Regions from separate parts of the Homo sapiens genome. Here all the other regions are linked to region 1. Evidence: promoter capture Hi-C in 16 types of primary human blood cells and fetal thymus (Javierre and others, 2016). All regions are on one chromosome and are shown on one strand. The core of a region is centred on a gene start or on the middle of the fragment in contact, and the rest is flanking DNA. Distances in the headings are between cores, read along the strand shown.

What was found. Contacts are between HindIII fragments. The CHiCAGO score rates a contact against its expected background, and 5 or more counts as called.
Region 2: a contact is called between the fragment with the promoter of BET1 here and the fragment with the promoter of SLC25A40 in region 1, in 1 of 17 cell types (total CD8 T cells). The highest score is 8.8, in total CD8 T cells.
Region 3: the fragment with the promoter of VPS50 here is called in contact with the fragment with the promoter of SLC25A40 in region 1 in 1 of 17 cell types (naive CD8 T cells); the score reaches 6.1 in naive CD8 T cells.

What each region holds. Positions count from the first base shown.
Region 1 is chr7:87,874,413-87,878,031 of GRCh38, reverse strand. It overlaps SLC25A40 (solute carrier family 25 member 40), which reads left to right and starts at 1,672. Exons shown (of 12, transcript NM_018843.4): 1 at 1,672-1,936. It overlaps DBF4 (DBF4-CDC7 kinase regulatory subunit), which reads right to left and starts at 1,539. Exons shown (of 12, transcript NM_006716.4): 1 at 1,254-1,539. The coding sequence starts at 1,299. RefSeq lists enhancers at 1,260-1,379, 1,567-2,076 and silencers at 1,440-1,699, 1,830-2,279. The HindIII fragment of the contact is 3,397 bases long and covers 1-3,096 here.
Region 2 is chr7:94,002,306-94,005,924 of GRCh38, reverse strand. It overlaps BET1 (Bet1 golgi vesicular membrane trafficking protein), which reads left to right and starts at 1,570. Exons shown (of 4, transcript NM_005868.6): 1 at 1,570-1,727. The coding sequence starts at 1,709. RefSeq lists enhancers at 1,004-1,633, 1,644-1,693, 1,148-1,753, 1,754-2,360. The HindIII fragment of the contact is 1,547 bases long and covers 893-2,439 here.
Region 3 is chr7:93,230,556-93,234,174 of GRCh38, reverse strand. It overlaps VPS50 (VPS50 subunit of EARP/GARPII complex), which reads right to left and starts at 1,809. Exons shown (of 28, transcript NM_017667.4): 1 at 1,675-1,809. The coding sequence starts at 1,707. It also overlaps a transcript of HEPACAM2 not described here. RefSeq lists enhancers at 1,289-1,348, 1,589-1,638, 1,729-1,898, 2,039-2,108. The HindIII fragment of the contact is 4,774 bases long and covers 1-3,619 here.

The DNA of each region.
Region 1 (3,619 bases), core at 423-2,922:
AGATGTTTTACACAGACACTTTTACTATTTTTAAAATATTTCATTATACAATATTACAGAATAAAAATCCTTACAACCCTACCAGTTTAAGTTATTAGCATTGAAATGTATTTCTTTGTAGTACTACTTAGGATAGAGGCAAAATGCCCTATATACTTTCACAGACCGCATATTGTAAAATAATAGTTGACTCAGCAAGAAATATTCGTGTGTTTATTCCTGAGGCACGGAACTATATAAAACTCTTTTGAAAGATTTTCTTTTTTTAGGATGTAAACTCCATGGGGATATTTAATACTCAACTATTTATTGAGCATCTGCCATTCTGCTGAACATTCAAAACTGGTGTTTAAACTTCATTTAGCGATGAAAGAATCCTCTGTTACGCAGAATAACCTAGTCCTCAAGGGTTTCAGACTGCTCAAGTTTTAGTTTCATATAAAGTTTGTCTGCATATTAACAACTAAACGGTCCATTTCACATACAATTTGTCTACGTATTAAGAACTTAACGGTCCATTACGAAGAACTAAACCTTTCATTATTTTCATTAGAAACAGATCTGAGATCCAAGCAACTGCTTTAAAAATTAATTTTTCAAACGCAATCTGTTCTTAAATTGGTAGTTACTACACACACACAAACACCTGTACAAAAAACTTAGGTGCTGGAATGTTTCACCAAATAAAGTGACTGAAAATGGAAATTTGCTTTTGTTTCCCTGTTTGTAATGTTGAAACCAGCAATGGGGTGTTTGAAATACAATGCTTTCCCCCAACTTATGAGGAAAGGAAAATAAACTTTCAAGGGTAAGACCAAAAATCCACCCACAATCACTCAATCTAATCCTGAAGCGAAAAGCCACGAGCGCGTCTGACTTTAAATTGAGGATGCAGTCCGTCGCCTCCAAGGGCCCGGGCGGAGGCTTAGCATATGCGAGAGCCCGGGAGCAGACAGCGCCGCAGTCCCGGCGAGGTCCCGGATCTGCACATTGTTTGCTAGTTTTCAACCGAAGGCACGACCGGGAATCAATCTGGGACCGCCGCTGTAAACGGCAGAGCGCTCGAGGGGCCGGGTCAGGATCCGTTCCTTCTTAGGCAAAACACTGAACGGGGGCTCCTTCCTTCAGACCCCAGAGGCCGGTCAGAAGAAAAGAAGCTGAGGACCCGGCGGGAGAAGTCTGAAGAATCAATGGTGGAACCACGAGGGGAGGAAAGGATTAAAGGGACTGCAGGCGGAGGAGGGGCTTCTTACCCTGGAAATGTCCTTTACTGTGGATCCTCATGGCTCCGGAGTTCATGGCAGTCGCCCGGCACCTACATGCTGGGTCCGGAGAAAGTGTCGCACCGGGCAGCCGCGAAAGCACGGCTTCCCCCGGCCTGTTGACAGGACGGCCGCCTCTCTCCTTCCGCCAGCTACGGCCTCTACGCAGTAGAGGTACCGCGTCTGCAGGTCGGGTTTCCGGGGCCGGATCCGGCTCCAAGGCGCGGAGGAGGAAGGCGCAAAGCACAAACGAGTGGGCTGCGGCGGTTGAAGATTTGAAAACGCGTCACGCGGCCGCGGCGCCGATACGCGCGCCCCGCCCCGTCTCACGCCACGCGCCGTGCCCCGCCTCGCGCTCGCCCCTCGTGCCTGCCTTCTCGCGCTGCGCGCCCCGCCCCCTCACGCCGCCGTCCTTCTCGCGCCTCGCTCTGGCCCTGCAGGTTGTGTTTCCGCCTCTACCCCGCCTCCATTCCGTTGCTCTCTCAGTCTCAGACCCGGGCTCTCGGTCCGCCGCTTCAGGTCTTGGCGCAGCCTCAGAGAGTTGGCGCGGCTCTGTGTTGACCAAACCTAGTGGATGCAGTTAGCGCCGGAGCCCGGCCCCGCCCGTCACCAGGGTTATTCCCGCCTTCTAGGTTTGCCAGGACTGCCGGCCCTGCAGCTGCCTTCTGCCCCAGGTATGCTAATTTTCCACTGGTCGGACGTCTGGGAAGCTGAAGGCGAGGGGCTTTGGCTGAGTCCGGACTCAGCTCTGGCCGGGCCCGGGGCCGGGGCCGGAACCGGAGCCGGACAGCGGCGGCAGCCGCAGCCCCTGCTCAGCGCGCCCTGGGTCGCACAGCAAGCGGGGTTTTCCCGCGGTCACTGCCGACCCCACCGGCTGAGGACAGCTGCAGAGGGACGTGCGGGAGTGAGGGCGGCCCCGGGGGGCGTCTGAGGGAGGGTCTGGCCAGGCGGCCCCGGCCTTGACGGCAGCGCCACCGCAGAACGCCTCCAGGTCACTTTGTGTCCTTGGGTAGTTGGCTATTTGCGCTGTCCTGTTGACTTTTATTGTATTCAGACCTGTTTTCTTTTAGTTGAGTGTAAGTTTATTTCAACAATGAAGGAGTGGAAAGTAACATCTCATTTTTTTTTCCTGTAAAACAGAGATTAAAGATCAAATTAAAATGCTTGTGAATATATTTTAATTTTATAAGTTGGAACATGCCTCTCCAAAAAAAAAAAAAAATCTGTTTCTTCAGGAGGAAGAGGATATTTTGAACTATTTTGCATTCCTCTACTCCAGGCCATAATAGGCACTCCTGTAGTGGTTGATTTTTTTACCTGGTAGCTCAAGGAAGTCAGAGTATCAGCGTTACGGTTTTGCAGGTAGGTACCTTAAAGAATAGACAAGGGTGGGTTGTGACAAGATTAGCTGGAGAACGCAGAGAACAGGTTTGCTAAGGGAAATGAGAGTTTGGTTTTAGACAGGTTTATGTTGAAGGGCCTGGGGCGACAGTCATGGAACTATGCTTATTAGACAGTTAAAGATGTTTATGACTCGAGAGAAATGTCTAGCAGAAGTGGACATGGGAAGAGGAAATAGAGATTGATTTGATATCTCTCCAATAAAATATTTCTGCATCAAGGTCTATTGATGTCAATCATGGGGCAATTCATTAGAGGTTAACAGATCTTGAGTGGTGGAAGGAAGTGTAGTTTGAACAAACATATTCAATATTGTAATTTCTATGGGAAAAAACTTATTTTCAAAATATAAGCTACAGAGAGCACAAAATGTTTATATTTACAGAAAGATTTAAAAAGTTGGGAAGCACTAATATAGAATGTAGTTAAAGCTTTGGGAGGAAATGAAATTGCCAAGGAGAGCATGTGAAATAAGAGAATTGATTATAAGCGTCGTTGATGAAATAGTGAAAGAGATGGAGAAAATGCCACAGAATTGGGAAGAGACTGCAAACATTGGAATCATATGGGCTTCACTAACTACTTGGCCTCTGGGTAATTTTGAGCCCCAATTTTAATCTATTAAAAGGGGGTAGTACTTCTCAGGGATGTTGTGAAGATTAAATGAACATTTTTGAATGCTTAGTACAGTGCCTGGCACAGAGTAGAGCTCCTTAAGAGCTCCATAATTACTATCATTCTAGTGAACACTGCACCAGTTCCTTCATCCCCAGGACAGATAAGGTTAAGACTTGAAAAATAAGTATTTGATTTTGGCGTTTCAGGTATCCTTGGTTTCCTTAAGGGTAATTTGAGTAGGTGGCAGAGATAAGTACAGTACTAGATAAAAATTATAATCTTGAAGTTCAGACAGGTTGAGTGTACTCTTTCAAAAAAATTTGTTATTGTAGGAAAGT
Region 2 (3,619 bases), core at 321-2,820, 6.1 Mb before region 1:
AAAACAATAATTGGATTTTTTAGGTAACAACTTCAATATGAACTAGCTTTGCCTTACTTCAGTTATATTCTTAGTACATTATATATGTTTTCCTTTTAACTACATTTCATTCTTATGTCTTCCTACCATGTAAAGGAAGCAGTATATTTTATGTAATCTAAATGATTAGTTCTAGTAAATATTACCATATTTTCAAAAATAACGATTTCTACATTTCCATCAGCAAGCCTTCTGTAAGGCAATTTTTAAACGTTTTAATTATAGAACATGCATTTTTTTAACCAAAGGACTGTCACAGATTTTAAGTTATAAAGGGATACCTAGCTATCATTTCTTTTATTGAATCTCCATCTTTTATTTGTAATAATTGTCCCTGATATTATGCTTATTTAATTTCATTGCTTTTAGAAAATGGCGGTTTTATTTTAATGATTTTTTTCTATCAAAACACTATTGGATAAAGCCTCCTTCCCAGGTTAATAACTCTTATTAAAAATTGTTTTCATGTGTTTTTTACAAAAGCAACTTAACGCAGAGACTTATGCCAGTATTATAGTCAATGTTAATAATGTCCTGGGAAACTATGAGGAAACGCTAAATGATCAAAGATCACATATTCGGAAATCTCTAGTGTGGAGACGATTCCACTGCCATATATACAGCAGCAACAACAAAACCGCAGACACCCAGTGAATTTTGATCACCTACTGTGTATCAGGTTTTTTTGTTTTCCCTTCAAAAACCACGATTTCATCGTATTCTCACGATAAATCCTCTGAGATAAAATGAAATTCTAGGATTAACCTCGATACCAGTAACACCTCCAACTCGCCAACAAGTTTTAAACCCCTAATTGGCACACTGCCTTGTGTAAGCAGTATTTCAATAAGCTTTGTGTAAGTTAAAAAAAAAAAAGTGGGAGAGCGTTTAGGGGTCCTTTGGTCCCCATAACAACTAAAAGTCTTGGTTCTTTCTAGAAGTACAACAGATGCAGTAACAGGGAACTAACTATTCAGTGCCTCTGACCAGATCCCGCAGCCTTTCCTAGTCTGCTCTCATCTGAGCAGGAGTCCTACTCAAAGGAACCTGGTTTTCTTTCCTTTACTGGATACTACAAGGCACAAATCGGTTACTTCTGTGGGTGTCGGATTACTTGTTTGTAAACTGAGAAACCTGGACAAAGTTTTCTCTAACTTTCCCTGAATCGTCTCTGGAGGTGAGAGGGAGTTCGAGGCTAAATCAGGAAAGATACCCCAACCATCCTCTTGTGGGTGGGGAGGAGCAGATCTGCTGGGTTAAACTTGGTGGTCAACAAACTGAAAGCAGCGACCCGCGGGCTGCGAGCGGAACAGCGGGAACGTTGGATCAGAGACCCAGAATCAGAGCCGCAGTCGAAGCCGCCCCCTTTTCCGGACGCCCCGTCCGCTCCTGGAACCGGGTTCACATCACGCCCTCAGCAACACGTTATGCGTTGGTGAACTACATTTCCCAGAATGCCTTTCAACCTTCTTCCCAGGGCTCCAATGAGCGCCGTGGTGACGCCATCATCCGGCGCGGTGTTTAGACTCCACTGATGTCGTGGCGCTTTAGGGGAAGAAGTTGGTGTTTCGCTGGGCCCTGGTACTGAAGACGCGGTCCGGGTCGCCCCTAGCTGTTTCCTACTCACCCAAAGCCCCGCACCCGCCTTTTCTCTCTCTCCTCTGGCAGGATGAGGCGTGCAGGCCTGGGTAAGAAGAGGGCTGAGGTTCGAAGTTCGGGGCCCTAGAACCGGGAGCGCTGGGGCGCGGGAGGAAATCGAACCTGTCTTATGTTCCTGGCATTTGGTCCAAAAAACAGGATGTCTAGAGGGGATCTTTGGGGTCCATGTCGAGTGGAAACACACCATTTGTCCCAGATCTTTGGAATTTCCTTAAGTTTGAGTCAGATTCAAGTTTGGATGGTAGGCTAGAGAAAGTAGTGGACTAGGGGTGGGTGTGTACAGGTGGCATCTCAGTGGTCGAGTGTTTTAGTGTTATTGACTGAGCGTGGTTATGGACGCTGCTATGTTTTCCAAAGCCCGACTCCGGTTTCTGTTTCCCTACTGGCCCTGGATCTTAGTTTCTTCAGAAGCGGAATTTGAAGAGTGGGTGGTTGCACCCAAAGCACGCTAGTAATGGTCGTTAATCTGGTAACAGTGAGTTACAAAGGTAAATGTATGTGTCATTATTGTTAAAGGTCCTGGAACTGGAACTTCTGGGTCAAAGGCGATTTCTTAATCTGAACCTTGTGCCACGGTTAAGGCAGTAGAACGTGGTTAAGGTTTGGCGACTTAACATTTGATCTTTACCTTTGGGGTTAGGAAACTGGCTCATCAGCAAGAATAAGTTAGACACAAGGAATTTTAATGGACCCTTATAGTAACGCACAGCTACTAGAACGGCATTTTCTGGTTCTGAAGCTTTCTCTTAGGACACGATTTTTTTTTTAAAGAAGACCCCGCTAAATTAGAGTGCAGTATACTTCAGAAAATAAATGAAACATTTGAAAAAAGATATTACCTTTCTCAGTCATTATAAGATTGAAAAAAGAAAAAAAAAATCCCCAAAGTGTCAGATATTTAAAGTCAGTGAAAGTTGCCAATAACCGTAGACTTGTTTATTGATCAATAAATTGTAGTATGAGAAAGTTTTTTGTTTTTTTAATGAAGTTTTTATGAATACTTAGATCATAGAAAATGGGGCCAGGTAAATTGAAGAGAAAAAAAAAAGAAATAATTTTGAGCAAGTTTAGCTTTATATGTCTAAATGTTTTTCTTGTTCATCATCCTTAATACCAAAAAAGATTTATTGTGTGCTTGAGTAAGCTCTAGGTATACAGTTGTTTGTTGCCCTGTTTGTGATCCCCAAAGCTTCCAGTCTAGGTGGGGAGTAGGAATATGTGCAAAGATAAATTGTAGTACAAAGTGTCGCTATACATCCAAATACCAGATAAGTTCTACATATAAGGGATGGTCTCAGAGATTTCAGAGATAGATCACTGTGTACTTTGTGGGGAAGATCTTTGTGTATTTGGTGGAGACATAGGAATTTGAAGTAGACCTTGAATAATGGAGAGTGGGGGAAGTGAGTTCCAGATAGGAGGAACTCAAAAGAAGTAAGGGATTATGATTAAGCCAGTTTGGGTGAAGTAGGGGATTCGGGATCACACTGTGGAGATCTTTGCATGCGAGGCCAAAGAGTTTGGATTTCATCAGTAGGCCCCTAGGCCCTTTTGAGTATTTTCCTGCTGCAGTGTGCCATGTTAAATTGCAGGAAAGTGACTTGAGTAATGGTTCTCAGCCCTGACTGTACATTAGAATCCCTTGGGAAGTTTTTAAAGTATTGTTACCTGGACCTCAGCTCAGCCAGTAAAATTAGAATTTCTCCAATTTAGAGCCCACTACCTTCTCCTTTTTTCCTTTTTTTTTCTTTCTTTTTTTTTTTTTTTTAAAAAAAAGCTCTTCTGTGATTGAGAGGAGAAGTAATTACCTAGGTAACTACTATTGCTATAATTTACATTGGTGTGAAGTGACAAAGGCTTTTGTTACACATTTTTTCTTTTCTTTTTTTTTAAAGTATGAATGCATATTGACCTGAAATTT
Region 3 (3,619 bases), core at 560-3,059, 5.4 Mb before region 1:
TGGCAGGCAACAAACTTGAGACAGCATCAAACAGCTGATGCACAAAAGTCCAAATTCAGCATTCCAAAGGCAGTTTAGAGGTATTAGTGATATAAAGTACAAAAGTATATATTGATTTAAAAATCAAACAGGTACCGAAGTCAGCATGAACTTATCTATTGCTTGAATTACTGCAACAGCCTGCTTCCAATTTTCCTGCTTTCCCACCATCAACATAGCCAATGTAACTAACGGTCTCTGCGTTCAAGCACTTCCTTGATAATGCCCAGGAACTCCGTTAACGCCTTAAACTCTTTAACTTCATTATATCATGTAAACACCACTATCAGGCTAACTCCATAAGGCACACATTATTCCTATTTTAAAGATGTGGAAATAGATGCTTAAAAACGTTATGTAACTTGCCGAAAGTCACACAGCTGCCACAGGATACAGCAGGACCCAAACTCATCGTCAAGTAAGAAGTAGTAGGACGCACAACACCAGTACTCAACACATGTGAGGAATTAACAAATGTTACTAGCCACTTACTTAAATATTTTTATTATTCACAGAACATTTTGATTATATTTTCATAACATTAACAAAATGCTCTGACATAACTAAAATAATCATGTAAGGGTCATTTGTGCATTGTGCAAGAGAAATACACAATTTGTATCCTGTTTATATATCTCTCAAATTGTGAATTCTCAAATAAGAATGTGGAATTTGAGTTATTTTTGTAATCAACAAGAAAAAAACTCACAAATATACCTTTCACTAAACGATTACCTTCCACATTCTCCAAACTTCTAAAAGCCATGTTGATTTAAAACTCTAATCTTAACTATCTTTCATATTAAAATAATAAAATGACCAATTCTAGTGAAATATTAAAGCTGAAGTAAATAAAGGCAGCTAAAACAAAGTCATAATCAATAAGTACATAAAAGAAAATTTCTGCACTTCTTAAATGAAGCTGAGGCATTATTACGAGGTCCCTAACATTTATGAGACAGGTTACAAAATAGCCAAAGCTCTTATTCATGAATTTCCATTCTGGGGAAAAAAAAGAAAAGATCAGTATTTTGCCATGACAAAAATAAATTTTTTAAAGCAGAATTTCACAAAGAGTTTTCACATATATTAGCTTATCGATGACCCTCATAACAGAACTGTGAAGTAAAATGAACAAAAATAATTATTTTCACATCCAGAAACGTAAGCTACAAAGTTTGGGGACTTGCCCAAAATCCAAAAGCTACTAATTCTGTCTTCAAATCATCCGTTTTCAGTCTTTCCAGGTCACCTCTACTGCACAGACCACACCACCCTACCCAGGCTATCAGCTCGCATATGACAGACAGCCTGGATGCGGAAGACCTTGCAAGGAAGCTCGGGCTGTTCTGGAAAGACGGCAAAAAGAGGAGGAGGGGAGACAAAGATACCCTGATTCCTTCAATGACTTATTTTTAAACGAATATTTCTGGGAGGCTGGTACCCGCTGGAGCAGTGCTCCAACCCAGGCGGCCCAGGTGAGTTTTCTAGGGTATGCCCCGGCTTCCCAGTCCCCCTGACACCTGCCACCACCCATAACTTAGATCCCCGCCCGCCACTGGTTGGGGACAGAACATCTCGGCTCCTCTCACTTCCGAGATGAAGGAAGCCTTTGCTTCAGCCGCCGCGACTTACCTGTCGGGTCATGAGAGATTTGATTTTTTGCATATCGAAATCCTGAGGAGGGTACCCTGCCTCAAAGAGCTAACAAATCACACCGAGCCACTACACAGCTGGCCCTGACACTAGGAAGCCATAGTGGGTGGTCACGTGGAGGAGCCGACCCAGGGTATCCTGTCTTTCCCTGGGCCTGCTGGGAACTGTAGTCTTCTGGACGCCGGCGGTAGCAACGATGAACTAAAGTGGCCAACCCAGGGACTACATCTCCCAGCAAGCAAAAGAGCGGGTGCTTCAGTTAAGCCGGTAAATATTACTGCTCAGAGCGACCACTGCGATCGCCGGTCTTACAAAGGTGCTTGCACTAGGCAGTAGCTACTCTTCGGCGAGACGGAAACCTAAGTCACAGGTGACTAGGCGTTGAGCGAAAGATCAAACTCAGAGGAGACAATATATAAGCCAGATTGACGCGATGTCCCCTAGGAGTGTGAGGGAGGAAACCTCACCTGGTCTAGAGGGGCGGGGTGGGAGAACGAGAGACTGACGCGAAGGAGAAGGAACTCAAGAAAGGGCTGTCACTGAGGGGTAACCTGAGAACTCGAGACTACCCCGGGCGCGCTGGGTTTGGCCTGAGGAAAGGTGTGCTCTAGGTTGCCCAATAGGCGGCCCTCCAGGTTTAGGGCTGTTCTACCTCAGTCTTGGTATCCCCTGCAAAAGCTCTAAAATCGAAGGATTTTGACGCCCGCCTATTATTTTACCTCCGTACTCTAAAGCAGTGATGACGGGAAATACGACAATAACGAGTATACCTGTCACTTTAAAGTCCTCTTTTCAACTTTTGGCAGTTTAGTTAAATTGGGGAAAGGAACAGAAGTGTCTTTGGGGACACAATTTTAAAAGGACTTTACAATTATGAGAATATGAGAAGAAGAAGAAAAAGCAGCCCTAAAGCTAACAATGATAGCTAACACTTATCGAAAGCCGAGTACCTGTCAGGAACTGCTAATAGCTTTAAATATATGATTTCATTTATCCACACAAGAATCCTGTGGGTTCCCATTTTAAAGATGACGAAGCAGGTATGGCGAAATTAAGGAACTTGCCTAAGATTACTGCAGATGTGCAAGTAGAAACTGAAGGATTAATCGGTCATCAGATGTGTTAAGATTTTCATGTATTGTGCTGAAGAAAGTTCTAAAGCATGGCACCAATTTTTTTAAGTTTATTTTATTATAATGTTAACTTCTAAAAGTATGACACAGACCCATAATTTCAAAAATATTTCTTAGAATAAAAAAAGTTCAAGTGTGTCAACGTAATAAAAAATACTAGGTAAACAATAGTATGGGTGGTAGTCAGATATGGCAAAACTAATAAAGGTGATTTGCAAATGACTGAAGTTTGGGGGACACTAACAGAGGTTATTTCTGATTCTGAAATTCTATTTTCTCACCCCTTAGAGCCTCGTTTTATTAATTTTTACAAATGAGGTTGTAATATTTTAATATTTTATATAGGGCTTTGTAAGGATAAGTGAGATGATGTAGGTGAATGAAATGTATAAATTGTAAAGCACTATACAATTATGAGGTATTATTGGTTTTGATTCTGCCCAGTTCTCTACTCCAACAGAACCACCTTGTGCATACTTGTATCATCACTGCGTTCAGCAATTCCTTTGAAATTATATGTTTACCTATATGCTTCTCTGACTCTGTTATTTCTAACCCCTTCAAGAAATTCTGGTCACATTTAGGGCAAGTCTAGTTTAGTTTATTCTTTACCTTCTCTAATCTTAATTGTCAGACTGTTCTTTGTGTGTGAAAATCTGCAATATTTAGAAGTCCCTGAAAGCATCAAAAGAAACAAAAACTGCCAGCCATATTAGCCTATAAAATAAAACCCAAGTCAATAAACATTTCTTGATTGTTGCGCTCAAGGCAACACTAAAATAAGCACTTTG